Linked DNA regions of Homo sapiens: all the other regions are linked to region 3. The links are contacts of gene promoters, found by promoter capture Hi-C in blood cells and fetal thymus (Javierre and others, 2016). All regions are on one chromosome and are shown on one strand. Each heading gives the region's core, a stretch centred on a gene start or on the middle of the fragment in contact. The rest is flanking DNA. Distances are from core to core; before and after follow the strand shown. Region 1 overlaps DYNC2H1 (dynein cytoplasmic 2 heavy chain 1). Region 2 has its middle 47 kb from the start of DCUN1D5. Region 3 holds the start of BIRC2 (baculoviral IAP repeat containing 2). Region 4 has its middle 26 kb from the start of MMP13. Region 5 overlaps DCUN1D5 (defective in cullin neddylation 1 domain containing 5).

Region 1 (2,998 bases), core at 467-2,966, 760 kb before region 3:
TATACATGCACTCAAAACTACCAAAATGAACTTAAGTTGTCTATCTCCTGAAATTAACTTTATCTTAACTGAAAATTTTTCCTTAAAGAGTTAAGAGCATAAAACTTTGTTAAATTGTCATATAGCTAGATTATTTTAAATCGGAACCAGATGAACTCAATTGGAATTCACTACAGCAATCTTGTTTAAAATAGGTCAGTTCATAGTAATGAGTTCATTAGCTGAGAACTATACTAGTCAAAGGAAGTTTTTGCATTATACACACATTCTCAGTTATTCTCATTTCTTTTTTCAGGAAAAGAAGTCTACACATTAAAAAGCTTTCAGACAAGGTCACTGCTGTGTAGGAAGAACAGCTATGGGTCTCATGCCACTTATTTCTATCCAAATAATTACATTTTTGGCCACTGGAAAGGAGCTGAAACTTTGTTACTGCTCAAATGCTTATAACATTTCATGACACATGAAAAGTATATGAAATCCACATGTCAGTGTCCATAAAGTTTTATTAGAACATAGCCATTCCCATTCAATTACATGTATTATTACAAAGTATTACATGTCTGCTTTCACACTACAAAGGCCAAGTTGTAGCTGCTAATGGAGCCCTTGTTGCCTGCAATATTATCTGACCCGTTACAGAAAACTTTTTGCCAACCTCTGTCCTAAAGCATAAACCAGATCACAGCTCTCTCTTGCTTAAGATTACCAATAACTTCCTATTTCAATTTAAATGGTATACAGTGTCCTAAATGATCAGCCTGTGCCTTATTCTCCTTTCTCATCTACCACAATGTTCCTTCATACCATAAACTCCAGCAATCACTCTGGATTTTTTTTCTTGCCCCTGGAAACTAAGTTAAAACCCAGCTCAGGGCCTTGGTACTTACAGTTTCTTTTGCTTAGAACACTCTTCCCCCAGGTTATGCCTGCCTGCAACTCATCATTCAAATCTCGCTTCAAAGATAACTAATCCAGAGAGGGATTATCTCCCACCCTATATATCTTTAGTTCCCCACGCTGCCCCATCACTACTATAACATTATTTTTATCTTAACGGCACTTATCAATACCCAAAATTATGTTACATATATCTGTAGCATGCGTTTAGCCTACCTTTGTCCATTCCAATGTTACTCCTTTAAGATACGGACTCTGTGTTCATGGCTTTGTCCCCAGTACTAGTAGGTAGGCAATAAATATTTGCTGACTTATTAACTTATTGAATCACGCTAACTATCAGGCAACTAAAGTACAACTGAAGACATAACAAAATATTTTCAAATATGACTAAAAACCTGTAGCGAAGTGTACAACTAAAAATAACAGATACATCGTTGGGCTTTACTAGTAATAGCTTTAACTTAAAAAAAAAAAGTTCTACCTTCAACTTTCAAATACCCAAGCCAAGATACACTTTCACGAATCCAAACCCCTTTCCATCTTTCCTACTGCATTCTATCCGAACTTTCAGTGGCATTTACAACAGTGTGTCCTGATTTTATCATTTGCTGAGTATATGTCATCCTAAGCCACTGGAGTGAGTCTAGGAAAGGCAGAAAGCAGGGGGCTCTATCCTGAACTACGCTACCTATTGGAGAAAAAGAAAAGTTAACATTTAGGTTGTAAATTTTGTCCCTTACTTTCCTCAGCCATAAAATAAGAAAAAGAATAGTTCCTATCTTACAATGTCGTTATGGCTATTAAATGAACGAATACATATAAAGTACTTAGAACAGTGCTTGACAGAGTCTAAAGTGAAAATAAATGTTAGCTATGATTATCCATCCTTTTTATATCTTTGTAAACCCATCATGCCTGGCAAAGTGCCTTGCATGTACTGAGTTCAAAGTAAATGTTTATTAAATACAATCGAATTAAACCTAAGAATAAAGATAGTGAATAGGGTGAATGATTCAATCATCCTATAAAAATGCACTGAAGCCAGGCACGGTGGCACACACCTGTAATCCCAGCACTTTGGGAGGCCAAGGCGGGTGGATCACCTGAGGTCAGGAGTTCGAGACCAGCCTGACCAACATGGTGAAACCCCATTTCTACTAATTGCAAAAAATTAGCTGGGTGTGGTGGCACATGCCCTGTAATCCCAGCTACTTGGGAGGCTGTGGCAGGAGAATCGCTTGAACCCGGGAGGCAGAGGTTGCAGTGAGCCAAGATTGTGCCATTGCACTCCAGCCTGGGTAATACGAGCGAAACTGCGAACTGCGTCTAAAAAAAAAAAAAAAGGCACTGAATGTTTTTGCTGAGTGTCAAAAACTCTGCTAGACCTAGGGATAAGGGTGAACACCAAAGGAAGAGGTTTAAAATATGTCTTTGTTTTATTAACTTAAATCTATTTACTGAGTCCCCTTTAATGTGTCAGGCAATTTTCTTCTGTGTTTTTCTTTTAGGCTTATATATATAAGCCCTGATTGCAAATGCAACCCATTTTTTAAGCAATCCTGCCAGTGGAGGGAGCAGTGCAATTAATAAATCAGTATATCACATGATGTACACCAAAAAAGAATTCAAACTTTATTTTGAAATATATCATTTCACAAAAATTTAAATTCCTAACTAATCTTTCCCTTGGGCAATGTTAAAATCAGAGCCTGATCCAAAAAAGATAGACTAGAATTTGCCTTCCCCCCAAAAAAAAAACTCAAAAAGGGGAGAGAAAAAAATAAAAATAACTAAGTAAATGTTTTCTTTTTAGTTATAACGTATCTGCAGTCTTTCTTAAAAAGTAGAATATAGGCCGGGCGCGGTGGCTCATGCTTGCAATCCCAGCACTTTGGGAGGCCGGATCACTTGAGGTCAGGAGATGGAGACCCACATGGCCAACGTGGTGAAACCCCCGTCTCTACTGAAAATACAAAAATTAGCCAGGCGTGGCGGCGCGCGCCTGCTACTCGGGAGGCTGAGGCACGAGAATCGCTTGAACTCAGGAGGTGGAGGACGCAGTGAGCAGAGATCGCGCCACTACACTCCATCCAGC
Region 2 (2,768 bases), core at 115-2,614, 700 kb before region 3:
TTTAAAGATCCTGCTAAAACTCATGAAAAGCCTTTTCTTAAAATAATTATCTGTAAGACTTGAAGAAAACTGATCATTTGGAAACCTTCTGTATTTTTTTAGAGTAATATAAACTTTAAAAATAAAAGTTGTGGTTTGATGCAGTTGCTGGCATAGATTTATATGCAATTGCATAAATTATATACTTTGCCCAGAATTACTTAGAATTTTTTTTCAAAATTATTTTATTTCTTACATGATGATTTAGAGGGACAGTTTTCAAACCAGTAAAAATATTTTATAAGTAATATCTGGCCGTTTTCTAACCAATTGAGTAATTTGTTGCACAATAAGCCACATCTTTCAGCAAGAAAAACATTAAATTTAATATTAATAGTAAAGACATTACACAATGAATAAGGGCAAAATTTAAATTTGCTTTAAATATTTCTTTAGGGGAGAGGACACCCACTTCTACTCAAAGAAGAGAAACATTTTTACAGTTCAGAGGCCTTTTACTTTTCTACACCTATTATGCCATGAATCCATAGGGAAGGGGTCTCAGCAGCTCAAGCTCCTTCCAGTTGGTTCTCACAAAATGCACTTCTCTGGGTGGAGCAGGCTGGCGCTTCACCTGAACCCAGGTACTTCTCTCTTTGGCTTCCTTCTTTTTCCCATCATTTTCCTTCACACGTTTCAGGAAGCTATCCTGGCTCTTAGCATGCTTAATGTGCTCAATACACACATTAATTCTCTTGCCAGGAATCTTGCCCTTAACTTGTATGTTTACAACAATGCCAACGGCATGCGGAGGAACACTGGGACTCTTCCGGTTTTGCCATGGTAACACTTGTGGGCACTCCTTTTTCAACCTATTCCCTTGATGTCTACAATATCACCTTTCTTATAGATTCATGTGTTTGTGGCCACAGGAACAACTCCATGTTTTCTAAAAGGCCTACAGAACATATATAGGGTGCCTCTGCTCTTTCCTTTTGCATTCGTTATTTTGGTGAATTACTGGAAGATGGCAGTTCCGGCCAAGCAGGCTAGAATGTTATTTCCTTCTGATTACTAAAATGCCCATGGCTTCTATACCTTCCAAATCTTCTAATCTCCCTGAGCAGTGCCTATTGATTCAGGTGGTGGTCACTGAATGAAACAAGATACAAGCGAAAAAGGAATATAGAGCATAGGTTTGTGTGTGTGAGTAATAGAGAAAAGCAAAGGGAAATGATACTAAGTGTAGTTGCTATAAGAAAAGATGAGTTTTCGGCCGGACGCGGTGGCTCACGCCTGTAATCTCAGCACTTTGGGAGACCAAGGCGGGTGGATCACAAGGTCAGGAAATCGAGACCATCCTGGCTAACACGGTGAAACCCCGTCTCTATTAAAAATACAAAAAATTAGCCGGGCGTGGTGGTAGGCGTCTGTAGTCCCAGCTGCTCGGGAGGCTGAGGCAGGAGAATGGCATGAACCCTGGAGGCGGAGCTTGCAGTGGGCCGAGATCGCGCCACTGCACTCAGCCTGGGCAACAGAGCAAGACTCAGTCTCAAAAAAAAAAAAAAAAGAAAAGAAAAGATGAGTTTTCTACCTCATTTATTTGGTGAAAATAATGAAGAAAAGCCAGCGGGACTAAGGAAAAGCAGGCAAGTTTTTCAGACTTCTTATATCTGTATGTAGACAAGAGTGGGAAAAAACAAAACAGGAAGTACTTCATAAGTGTAAACAAATACTTATCACGTGGCTTTACTGGAAAATTGTGCATTCTCCTGAAGTCCCAGAGAGTAACTAAATGGAAAGAATGACAACTAGAAAGAGGAATTTGTCATGAACCAGATTCCAGCCACGACACAACCTTCAATTACCTAATATGCAAATTTAGAAAATTACTCAATCACTTAAAAAATAGAAATGGTCAAAAAAATCTCAATAATATCTTAAAGTAAATGCGAGCTCAGCAGAATCAATATTTTAATCAGTAACTACTTATTTTAAATATAAAATTCTAGACACTCCTAGGAGGATGGTCTGTCCCGTGTTTTTATAGTGGATGAGATAAATATAACAAGGGAATTTGTACATCCATTTTGTGGGGTTGCTTGGCCTTCCAAAAGTCAAACTGGATAAGACTGGCTTCCAGAAAACCAGAAAGTTTTCCTGTTAATAACTGAGAGTTCACTGTGCTCTTTGCCTTCTCATAACCCTTGTTTATTAGCAGTGGAAAGAGCTCTGGATTAGAAACCAGGTGTTTTGCCTGGATAATTTCCAGGGTTGTTACAACATTCTAATAAGATAGGCATGGCAAATCACTTTATTGCATCTATGACGTTATTCAGTAATTTCAAATAGTGTTAACATCAATACTGCGATGAATATGTGAAATGCATGTGATCAGTTATGAATTTATAGAATTATAAAAGTATTGATTGTGAGATATGATTGGAAACTAGTCCAATGAACATATTACCTTAAAAATTTCTACAACTATGATTAACAGCTACTGACCATTTAACCAACATTTAAAACCAGTCCGTGGATTGATACCTGTTCTTTCAATGAAGAGACTACTTGCTTGGTATATGTGAGAAAATCAATTTTCCAAAAAGCATTCTTGTTTATGTTAGAGGGAAACTTGTAATTACCAAACAGGAGTGGAATTTGCATTTAGGCCATTAGTTTTTGCTCAGCAAATTTGGGAGAAAATCAGAGTTGTCTGAAACTGTAAACATTATCCAAAAGAGTTACCCTAAAAATCTAGTTGCAAGAAAAAAAAAATCTGTTGATTT
Region 3 (3,071 bases), core at 491-2,990:
AAAAACTAAATAACCTGTTCATCATTTAAGGACTATTCAGCTATAATTATCAGTCATGTTGTAAACATTAATCAATTTATCACAAGATAAAACTTGTCCTTTCTAGTGTTATCAGAAACGCCTAACAAAATATTGTACTACCAAAAAAGTACTGCTTAGCATAAAGTATCAGTAATCAACTCTACTAGCCTTCTTTCTGAAAACTCTTCAATGTTTTAAAAATATAATTCATACACAAAATTACACTCCATAGAATTCAAACTATATCCCTTTATAAAGTTTCGAGATCTCCATAATGGGATTTATTACTGCAGGGGGACAAAATAGGGATAGGGAGATTCTTCAGGGTTGTAAATCTGAAAAGAAAAAACAAAAAGTATTTTAGAAAACTGTATGTGCATGCCAAATAGAACTTACATACTCTTCAATTTATTCAGTAAAGTCTAAGAATAATTCACACTTTAGATAATACATCTTAATTCCAGCAATTTGTCACAACTTTCTAAATGAAAAAGCTATTAATTAAAATAAGTAAATGCAACATACTCCCCATAGCACTAACTATACGTGTCTTTAAAACGCACAACTTCAGAGACAGATGGAAATTTTCACACAGGAAACATTTTGTCCTTGCTCTCCTCCCCTTTTCTGGCCTAAAGGTAACTCTGGCACTCTGCTGGAGGCAAAGGCACATTGGTTAAAAAGACAGACAGACACTCCACTACACCCTGTCAGCAGCAGTACAGCAGGAATTAAGACAGCAACGTTAGTTTGTAATATCAAGTCTCTCCACGACTAGGAAAACTGCAGTAAAATGCACCACGAGTTCATTAATATAAACTCTTAAACTCTGCCATTCCCTTACAATTTCAAAGCAACGACCACAGAAAGCAACTCGAAAACAAAACCTAACACAGTGGCCTGTGAAACAGTGGCTCCGGCACTACGACCACTGGCATGATTGCTTTAATTACACCCGGTCTTATATCCTATCTTTAAATGAAAGATTTTTATCTACGTGCACCGCACTGCTGCATTCTCTTTACGCAAATTGCAGCTGGGCAGGGGATAGGATGGAAGGGAAAAGAATAGAAACTATGGGATTTACCCAATAATTTCCCAGAGTTGCTTCTCACAATACACAACAGACGACTACTGGAATGACAGAGCGCAGTGGCAACTATGAAATATGAAATATCGCCGCCACCGAAATATCTTCGTTTCAATGTATTACATTAAAAGAACGCCGAGGGCTAAGTTTAAAACCTTGCAAAAACTGCGAGAAAACATCTTGGTCAAAGTCCAAGGGCCAGAAGAGTGGGCGGCGGCCAGAGGCTTGAAAACAAGTCATTTTAAAAATCGCTTTGACTGCAAGTCTCGAAGTTGGGGCTTCCGAATCCAATAAAACCTTGGCGAGAGTAGAAAGCAGAGAGCCCCCGGCGACCCTCGACCCTTGGCCGAAGGGCCTCAGGCCCCGTCCTTCCTCGTTCGCCGCCACATCAGGGAAGTGGGCCCCCGCGGGCCCTCGCGTCCCCACCCGCCCCACGCCGCCCGAGCCCGGAAGGAGCAGCACTCACCGCAGTGCGGGCGCAGCAAACACGGAAGCTGCGCGGCTGCCTAGAGGCCTCCGCAGAGCCGGGAATCAGCGGCGCCGACAAGGAGATACGGCCCGCTCGGCTCGGATCAGCCCGGGCGCTCCCGAAGCCCGCCGCCCCATCCGGGCTCACTCTGACGCACGATGACGTCAGCGCGCCCGGCCGAGGACCAGCGTTAGCCGCCGCGCGAGGGCGCCCGGGAGGCTGGGGCCGGAAAGCGGAACCGAGAGCGCTTTCCGCCGTGCGGCGATGAACCTCCGGGAAAGACGCTGGGAGGCCAGGATGCCCGGCGCAACTGGACGCTCATCGGGAGTCACGGGGTCGGCCCTCAGGGGAACGGGGACTATCCGTATCAACTCGGTGTTTGTTCGTTTTCTTCACCTTGCGGTTTGTGCCCTCTCCACATTTCCTCTCTGTGTCTACCATTCTCCTGGGGGACGTGGCAAACCGTGAGCCGCTGCGTTTGAGTTTTGGGAAACCCTGCGGAAACGCCCTGGCGCCGGTGGTTTTGCGCGTCCTACCCTGTGTCACCTCAGGGTTATGATCTGGCCCCTGGCAAGGCTCCCCAAGTGTGATGCCTCCCCCCGTCCAGATGACTGCATTTTGAGGATGGAGTCAGTCTGGTGGCATTTTTTGCTTAAGTAAACAATTGTAACCGTTTGTGTAGCATCAGCGTTCAACAGCTGCCTGTGCAAATCGAAAAAAGCGAAACTTTGGAAACTAGGAAGCATCAGATGAATAATTCTGAAGACTTGATGTCAACGGGAGTATCTTGTTTTTAAACTTTTGGTTTTCTGTTCTGGAGACAAACAGTTCATATGCACTAAAGAAAAAAGTGTCATTATTTCAGATGCTCATTGCCAGCAAAGAGAACTGTATTGCAAGTCAGGCTTCACTCCCAGTATTTTCTGAATGTTTCAATAAAATGAAATATATACGTCTGCCTGTGTATTGGTGTACATGCACATATAATTGTACATAAACCAGAGAGGAGCCCAATTTTTTTTAATGCTTAGGTAATAGAAAATTTGTAAATAAAAACCCTTGGCTTTTGCTAGTCATGGACCTTTTGTATCCCCCCGCCATACTCCCCCAATAGTGCCATAGACACAGTGTCGTGCAGTAAATGTTTGTGGTATGACAACCAACGAACGACTTTTGAAGTTGACGCTCTTTGCCCGTTGAATCCGATGCTTGCTTCTCTCTGGGGAACTCCAAGGGGCAAATATTTAAAAAACTTCCAAATAGCAAGCCACTTAATTAGGGAGCCGGGGGAATTCCAAGACCCTGAACCATTTCCCATTTCCTGTCTGTGTCATTTCTGCCTGCCAGTCAGTCACAGAACAGGAGGTCTACTGTTCCAATGTTAATAGTCAAAGAAAGTGAGTGTAACAGTTTGTAATACAGAGAAAAGAAATGCCATGGCTCCCAATGACTAAAAACTTCCAAAAATGCACCTGGGGCTTGGTAGTAGTT
Region 4 (2,936 bases), core at 105-2,604, 580 kb before region 3:
TTCCTACTATCTTCTAAGATCTCCAAAGGCTAAGTGCTAAGCAATGGGGAGTTTGGCTTGCATCACTGGAAGTTATTGTTCAAATCATCTCTGAATGAATTCACTTATACCTCCTCACATTTAAACTGAAGGAATCATAAAGTAACAAACACTAACAGGAAGGAATAGAGGCACAGCAAGTTCATATGGCATATTTAGAACTCATTTATTATATAGAAAAGCATCTTTCAGATTTTCTAGACTAATAAATATTTTGTCCCTTTCTTCAGTTTTTGGTAGTTCTTTAAAATCTGTTTCTTCAAAACCTTTTGACTTTGGAATTAGGATCTTTAAGGTGTTGTACCAATAAATTTAGAAAAAGACTTCTGTCATTACATGATGTCTAAGCCAGTACAAACTAGACAGGGAAAATACAGCCCTGGAACAAGCTGAATCTTGTAGTTCATTTGTGGTTTTAAAATGATTAACTTGTGGGAAAGGAAAATCAATTATACTGTAATAAACCTTATTACAGAGAAAAGCTTTAAAGCAAGCACATGTTTAATTAGTAACCTAGACATTATTACTCACTCACAGCCTTCCTTGCCTTTCATGTGGTAATATATGTAATTTATTAACCATTTTGGAAAATCTGTTTTGCCATGAAGCTCCAGTTCCAGTAAATGTAATACAATCCAGAGGATTGAGAAGGAGAGGGTGATGAAGCGTATAGACCCCTAGTCTAGTGTGACTCTAAGACACTGCTATTTCAGTGGGCAAACATTTGAGTATCCCCTAGGTTGTCCTTAAGCCTAGTTGAATGAGCAAGATAGGCGGGGACCCCTCTATTCTGTTACCAATGATAAAATTGCGCTCTATCAATTTTACTGACTGGAGAAGAGTGCTTACTAAAGGCCTAGCCGACCTTACACGTTCAGATAGAATTCTCTTTTCCTCTTCTACAAAGCACATTGCTTTTACTTTTCTTCCAGCATTTGTGTCTCCCATTAGCTTGCAGAAGCATTGTGGGATCACATCTTGTGCCTACAGCTCTGCCTTTTACATAGAACGTTCTGAACCAAATTGGATTGAAGCTTGACCCTGATATGGAACTATGAGGCTCCACATAACACACAAATTTTACAACACAATGATGGTGCCAATGTTTCTAAAGGACTCAAAGCCGCCACAGAAATGGTAACCTGAACAGGTTCATCATTGCCACATTAAACAGTAAACTTCTGGGGGCATGAGTAGTGAATGCATTTGATTCTGACAGACTCTCACACTGTCCTCAGCTTTCCTCTCCCTCTCTCTTCTAGATAATATGTTACTTGAGGGTGGAGGCACTAGTTGTCTCCTATTGTTGATGATTCTTTTCCTATCTCTCTACCCCAATGTCAAATGCTGTTATAGCACATGTCAGTGCTCGAGGCATAGTTCATGAACTGCACTGAGTCTACTTCTGACATGTAATTAATTCATCCAATCCTTGTTACGTGGCTTCAACCCAAAGCCCTACTATCCTACTGAGACTGTGCTTTCCAAGGTTTTCTGAATAGCTGTGTTTCTTTAATTGTCAAGCATAAGAGTCTTTATTCCTCATGTCTTTGACTATTTTTGGACATCAGGGAATGGTTAGGGGTGGAAGCTTTTGACGCTGCTGACATCTGCCCACTTTTCAAAGGTCCTGGCATCCATGGCTTCTGTAAGGTCACACTTAATTGGTGTTTTGCTTAGTTCTCTTAGTTCTGAGATTTTTTTCTTCTGCTTTCCCATAAATGTTCTCTAAGTTTCTCTCTTCAGGCCTTTTCTTTCTCCTTGTCATCCTGCCTTTTCCTGCTTAATGCACTTCTGGCATTTCCAATGGCTCTTTCCTGAGAAGACACTGCCTCTTAAGGCTGTATCTCTAGCCCAATCTTGATCTGAATTTTGAGTGGTGGTTGCAACTCTCCATTTGAAGTTCTTGGTGGTGACACTGAACTTCACAAAGCAAGACAGTGCCTGATTGGTCCCAATTTGCGTCACCGATGTCACTCACCTCTTGTCACTTATCTCCTAATTTTTTCCCTGTTCTTTGACCACGTTGGTGCCTTTCTGTTCTTCCCACCTATCAAGCTCATTCCTGCCCCAGGATCTTTGCAATTGCTCTTCCCCTTTGGGACCCACCTCCCCTGGTTCTCCACACCGCTGGCTCCTTACTCTTAGGCAGCCTGGGGGCAGCTGCTGTCTTTCATGGAACTCTGTTCTACTTCCTCCATAGGGTTTATCACTCTCTCAGTGTGGATCTGTTACCTGTTTGTTTAAATGCAAGTTTTATGAGACTGAGTCTCGGTCACATTGTAGCCTTAGCACCTAGCACCCATTAGACATGCCATTACTGAATTCTGCATTAAGAAAACCTGGGTTTTAGTCCTAGATCTGTTACTGACCAGCTGTGTATGCTTGGGCAATTCACTTTGCCTCCTCAGACAACCGTTTTCTCTTCTGTAAAAAGATGGAGCTCTGATTTTTAAACCACTTTCCATGCACCGTCTAAGAGCCCCCCTTAGGTGTGTGTTGGGGTTGGGGAAGTAATGAGAGGAGGCCTGAGTAGGAAGTATGTGGGACCCTCCCACCCAATCTTACCCCAACAAGAATCATTTTCCTTTTATTTTGCTACACGTATTGGACTCCCATTTAAAATTTCATGTGCAGAAAGATGCCTACATTAAAATTAAACATACAAATTTTAAAATCACTGATTCTGATCATTATTAGGCCTTTTTCATCTTGAATTATGACTCTATCCAAAGCACTTTTCCTGTCTTCCCACAAGCCAATTTGAATTTCCTAGTACTATTTTTGGTTTTGTCACACAAATCCAAAACTTCACAGTTGTTTTTGACAGATTCCTGTTCCTCCCCTCCTCCACCCAGCTGGTTGCCCAATTCTCCTAAATGCCTTCCTCATCAGTT
Region 5 (2,964 bases), core at 15-2,514, 740 kb before region 3:
GTCAACATTAGAATTTGACATGGTTACTTTAGTAGCTCACATTTTTATAAGATACAGGCAAATTATTATTCATTTTTGTACTATATCATGGCCATCTTAAGTATATAATGTATTAAAATTATTTAAGTTAAGTACATTAAGATAGCTGAGCAGGCAGTATTATTAGAACTCAGGTGATACTTTGCTCTATCAATTTAAATTTTTAAATATGATACTCTTACTTTACTCAGTTACAGAAGTTCTATCATTTCTATATCATTGTGGTAGGGTAATTATTTGAGTTCCTTGAAAAAAGTTTCTCTGAAGGCCATTAAATTCTAGAGGCCATTTTGAACTTACCAAATTTTAGTTATTTTATGAAAAACAATGAAAATGATTTTATGAAAAAAATGAAATAGAATGAACAGAACCTAGGATTAAATAGCCTTGTCCCAATTATTTGGACTATTATTAACTTTTAGTGTTTTTTTGTTGTTTTTTTTAAATCTGTGTAATTTAATATACCCTTAGGTCCTAAGTCATCATTTATCTTTAAAAATCTATTTAAGCTTAGGTGATAAAACAACTCTTAATATAACATTTTATTTTGAAATATTGATTCATTAAGTATCAAAATATACTTTGTAAGAGTTTGTTTTCAAATATTTATCTATTACACACAAATAGAATTTCTATGCAAATCAATAGAATCATAATAAATATTTATACTTTCCCACCTACTAGGTTGAACTTCTTTGTAGTCTTTTAAAATGTGCGGAAATAACTTACTGATATTTTTGGATTTTGATACTGAGTGAAAAGGTATTTGGGTTTTGTTAGCCGATAATTCTTATGTATAGACTACTGTTTCAAGTTGCAATTACTTAACAACTTCAGTTTTTTTCCAACAATGCCAACCGAAGAAAAAAAAAACCTTTGTTTAATGTGAATGGAAGTTGTTAATTTTGAACTTAGTTTTTCTCTAAGAGTTGAGATGTGATAAAAATCTTAGGCGTCTGTGTGTTTTCTAAGCTATTGCAGATCCCAACCCCCTGCTAGACTAATAAGTGGAGAGGAACATTTTTCAAGCAAGAAGTGCCTGGCTTGGTTTTATGAATATGCAGGTAATGAAATTAATATAAGAAGATACTAGTCATATGCTTTAAAAAGTTTATTTGCCTTATTCATTTAACAAATTATCTGTTACAGGCCTGCTATGTGTTAGTGCTGTGTACTGGGATGAGGGTCAGGACTGAAGATTGTGGGTAGACTAAAAATTTGTTGCCAATTTAGGCTGATATTTCTTTAAATATATATTCGGTATATATTTACTGGGAGGGAAGAACTCATTTACTATTAATAAAACGTGTAAACAAAGATTCATTTATTTACATCTATTGGCTAAAGTAGTATTCTGGAAAATAAAAGGTACACAATAAAACATTTTTGTATTTGATATTGTGGAAAACACAAAGTACATAATAAAACATTTCTATTCAATATTCTCTTTTTGAAATTTTTCTGAACTAACATTTTCTGAAACTTTTGGGGAGACATAGTAAAAGATTTAAACCCCTCAGTTATAATTGTACAACACATTTACTTTTTAACAATTATCATTTAGCCATCCACTTCTACTAGAGATGCAATAGTAAGAAAATAAATAGACTGATATTAATACAGTGTGATAAATACTATATTCAGAAGATACACTGTGAGAGTTCATAGGAGGGATATATAACCCAGCTTTTAAAGTGTCATGGGAGTTTTCTAGAGGAGCTAACTTAACCTCAGCTAAATCTTGTAACTGGTGGATGAAGAGCCCTAGGCCCAGGATGGGGTTGTGTTTTAGAGGCGAAAGTCAAAGCCAGCCAGAGATGGGGCTGAAGAGTTAAGCAAATATATGCAAAAGAACACTTATACTATCTCATAAATATATATGGAATTTTTTTCCCCTTAGAATAGTTTTGTTTTTTTGGAGTTATTGATTTTAAAGCTTTTTTCTTTTCCTTTTCCTTTTTTTTAACCTGCTTCACTTTTTTTTCTCCTTCTTTTAATCACTATCATTCTCAAAATGTTTGTTTAAAATGGAAGTGTATATGTAGCTATTGCCTTATATTTAGTGCTCATCCACATTAAGGTCTAAAGTAGTATACTTTGAACTTGAGGTATAAGTTTAGGCTAATTGTATGGAATGTGAGACTATTTTGAAAGGGGGGCAGTAACTTTACTGTTGGAATCAGCTGAGTGATCCCAAAGTACAATTTTAAAATTGTTTAGTAACAGAACAGATTCTTTCTAGACCAGAAATAAATGCTATTACTGGCATCCCAAGACAACCACTAACCCAATTTAAATGAAGGGAATTCATTTCTTACTGACCTCCATTTAAAATGTTGACCCATTATCCCAAATGCCAGTTTTACTGGTATGAATGATATATAATCAAAAGGTCACCCATCTTATTTCACTTATAAAGGTTACTAGATACAATAGAAATAGAAAATATTTGCCTCAACTAGGAACTTTCCTAGGTAGTGTAAGATTCTAATTAAACATTTGTTTACTATATTAGCATTTTTAATAGCCAACATAATAATTGCATTATTCCAGGAATTGTCCCAGGTATATTATTTTTTCTTGTGACTGTTCTATTAAGTAGGTAGTATTATCACCACCTCCCACTACGACTTTATTTTTTGAGACAGGGTCTCACTGTGTCGCCCACGCTGGAGCGCAGTGCTGTGATCATGGCTCACTGCAGCCTTGAGCTCCTGGGCTCAGGCCATCCTCCCACCTCAGCCTTTCTAGTAGGTGGGAATATAGGCATGTGCCACCACGCCTGGCTAATTTTTTAAATTTTTTGTAGAAATGGGGTTTCAGCCGGGTGTGGTGGCTCACGTCTGTAATCTCAGCACTTTGGGAGGCCAAGGTAGGCAGATCACGAGGTCAGGAGATCGAGACCATCCTGGTTAACATGGTGAA

Evidence for each region. Contacts are between HindIII fragments. The CHiCAGO score rates a contact against its expected background, and 5 or more counts as called.
Region 1: a contact is called between a fragment that was not itself captured here and the fragment with the promoter of BIRC2 in region 3, in 2 of 17 cell types (naive CD8 T cells and non-activated CD4 T cells). The highest score is 9.5, in naive CD8 T cells.
Region 2: a contact is called between a fragment that was not itself captured here and the fragment with the promoter of BIRC2 in region 3, in 1 of 17 cell types (fetal thymus). The highest score is 5.9, in fetal thymus.
Region 4: a contact is called between a fragment that was not itself captured here and the fragment with the promoter of BIRC2 in region 3, in 3 of 17 cell types (M1 macrophages, M2 macrophages and M0 macrophages). The highest score is 9.3, in M1 macrophages.
Region 5: a fragment that was not itself captured here is called in contact with the fragment with the promoter of BIRC2 in region 3 in 7 of 17 cell types (total CD4 T cells, total CD8 T cells, non-activated CD4 T cells and 4 more); the score reaches 8.8 in total CD4 T cells.

What each region holds. Positions count from the first base shown.
Region 1 is chr11:103,110,070-103,113,067 of GRCh38, reverse strand. All of the region lies in intron 1 of DYNC2H1 (dynein cytoplasmic 2 heavy chain 1), which reads right to left. Among named protein-coding and RNA genes, the nearest start is that of DYNC2H1, 2.1 kb to the right of the region's middle. The HindIII fragment of the contact is 2,788 bases long and covers 323-2,998 here.
Region 2 is chr11:103,043,456-103,046,223 of GRCh38, reverse strand. It overlaps the pseudogene RPL21P96. Among named protein-coding and RNA genes, the nearest start is that of DCUN1D5, 47 kb to the left of the region's middle. The HindIII fragment of the contact is 8,262 bases long and covers 1-2,768 here.
Region 3 is chr11:102,345,883-102,348,953 of GRCh38, reverse strand. BIRC2 (baculoviral IAP repeat containing 2) reads right to left here and starts at 1,740. Exons shown (of 9, transcript NM_001166.5): 1 at 1,578-1,740; 2 at 1-356. RefSeq lists an enhancer at 1,119-1,188. The HindIII fragment of the contact is 3,484 bases long and covers 1-3,071 here.
Region 4 is chr11:102,927,768-102,930,703 of GRCh38, reverse strand. No RefSeq gene overlaps it. Among named protein-coding and RNA genes, the nearest start is that of MMP13, 26 kb to the left of the region's middle. The HindIII fragment of the contact is 557 bases long and covers 1,076-1,632 here.
Region 5 is chr11:103,087,366-103,090,329 of GRCh38, reverse strand. It overlaps DCUN1D5 (defective in cullin neddylation 1 domain containing 5), which reads left to right. Exons shown (of 8, transcript NM_032299.4): 2 at 1,012-1,103. Among named protein-coding and RNA genes, the nearest start is that of DCUN1D5, 3.3 kb to the left of the region's middle. The HindIII fragment of the contact is 1,427 bases long and covers 551-1,977 here.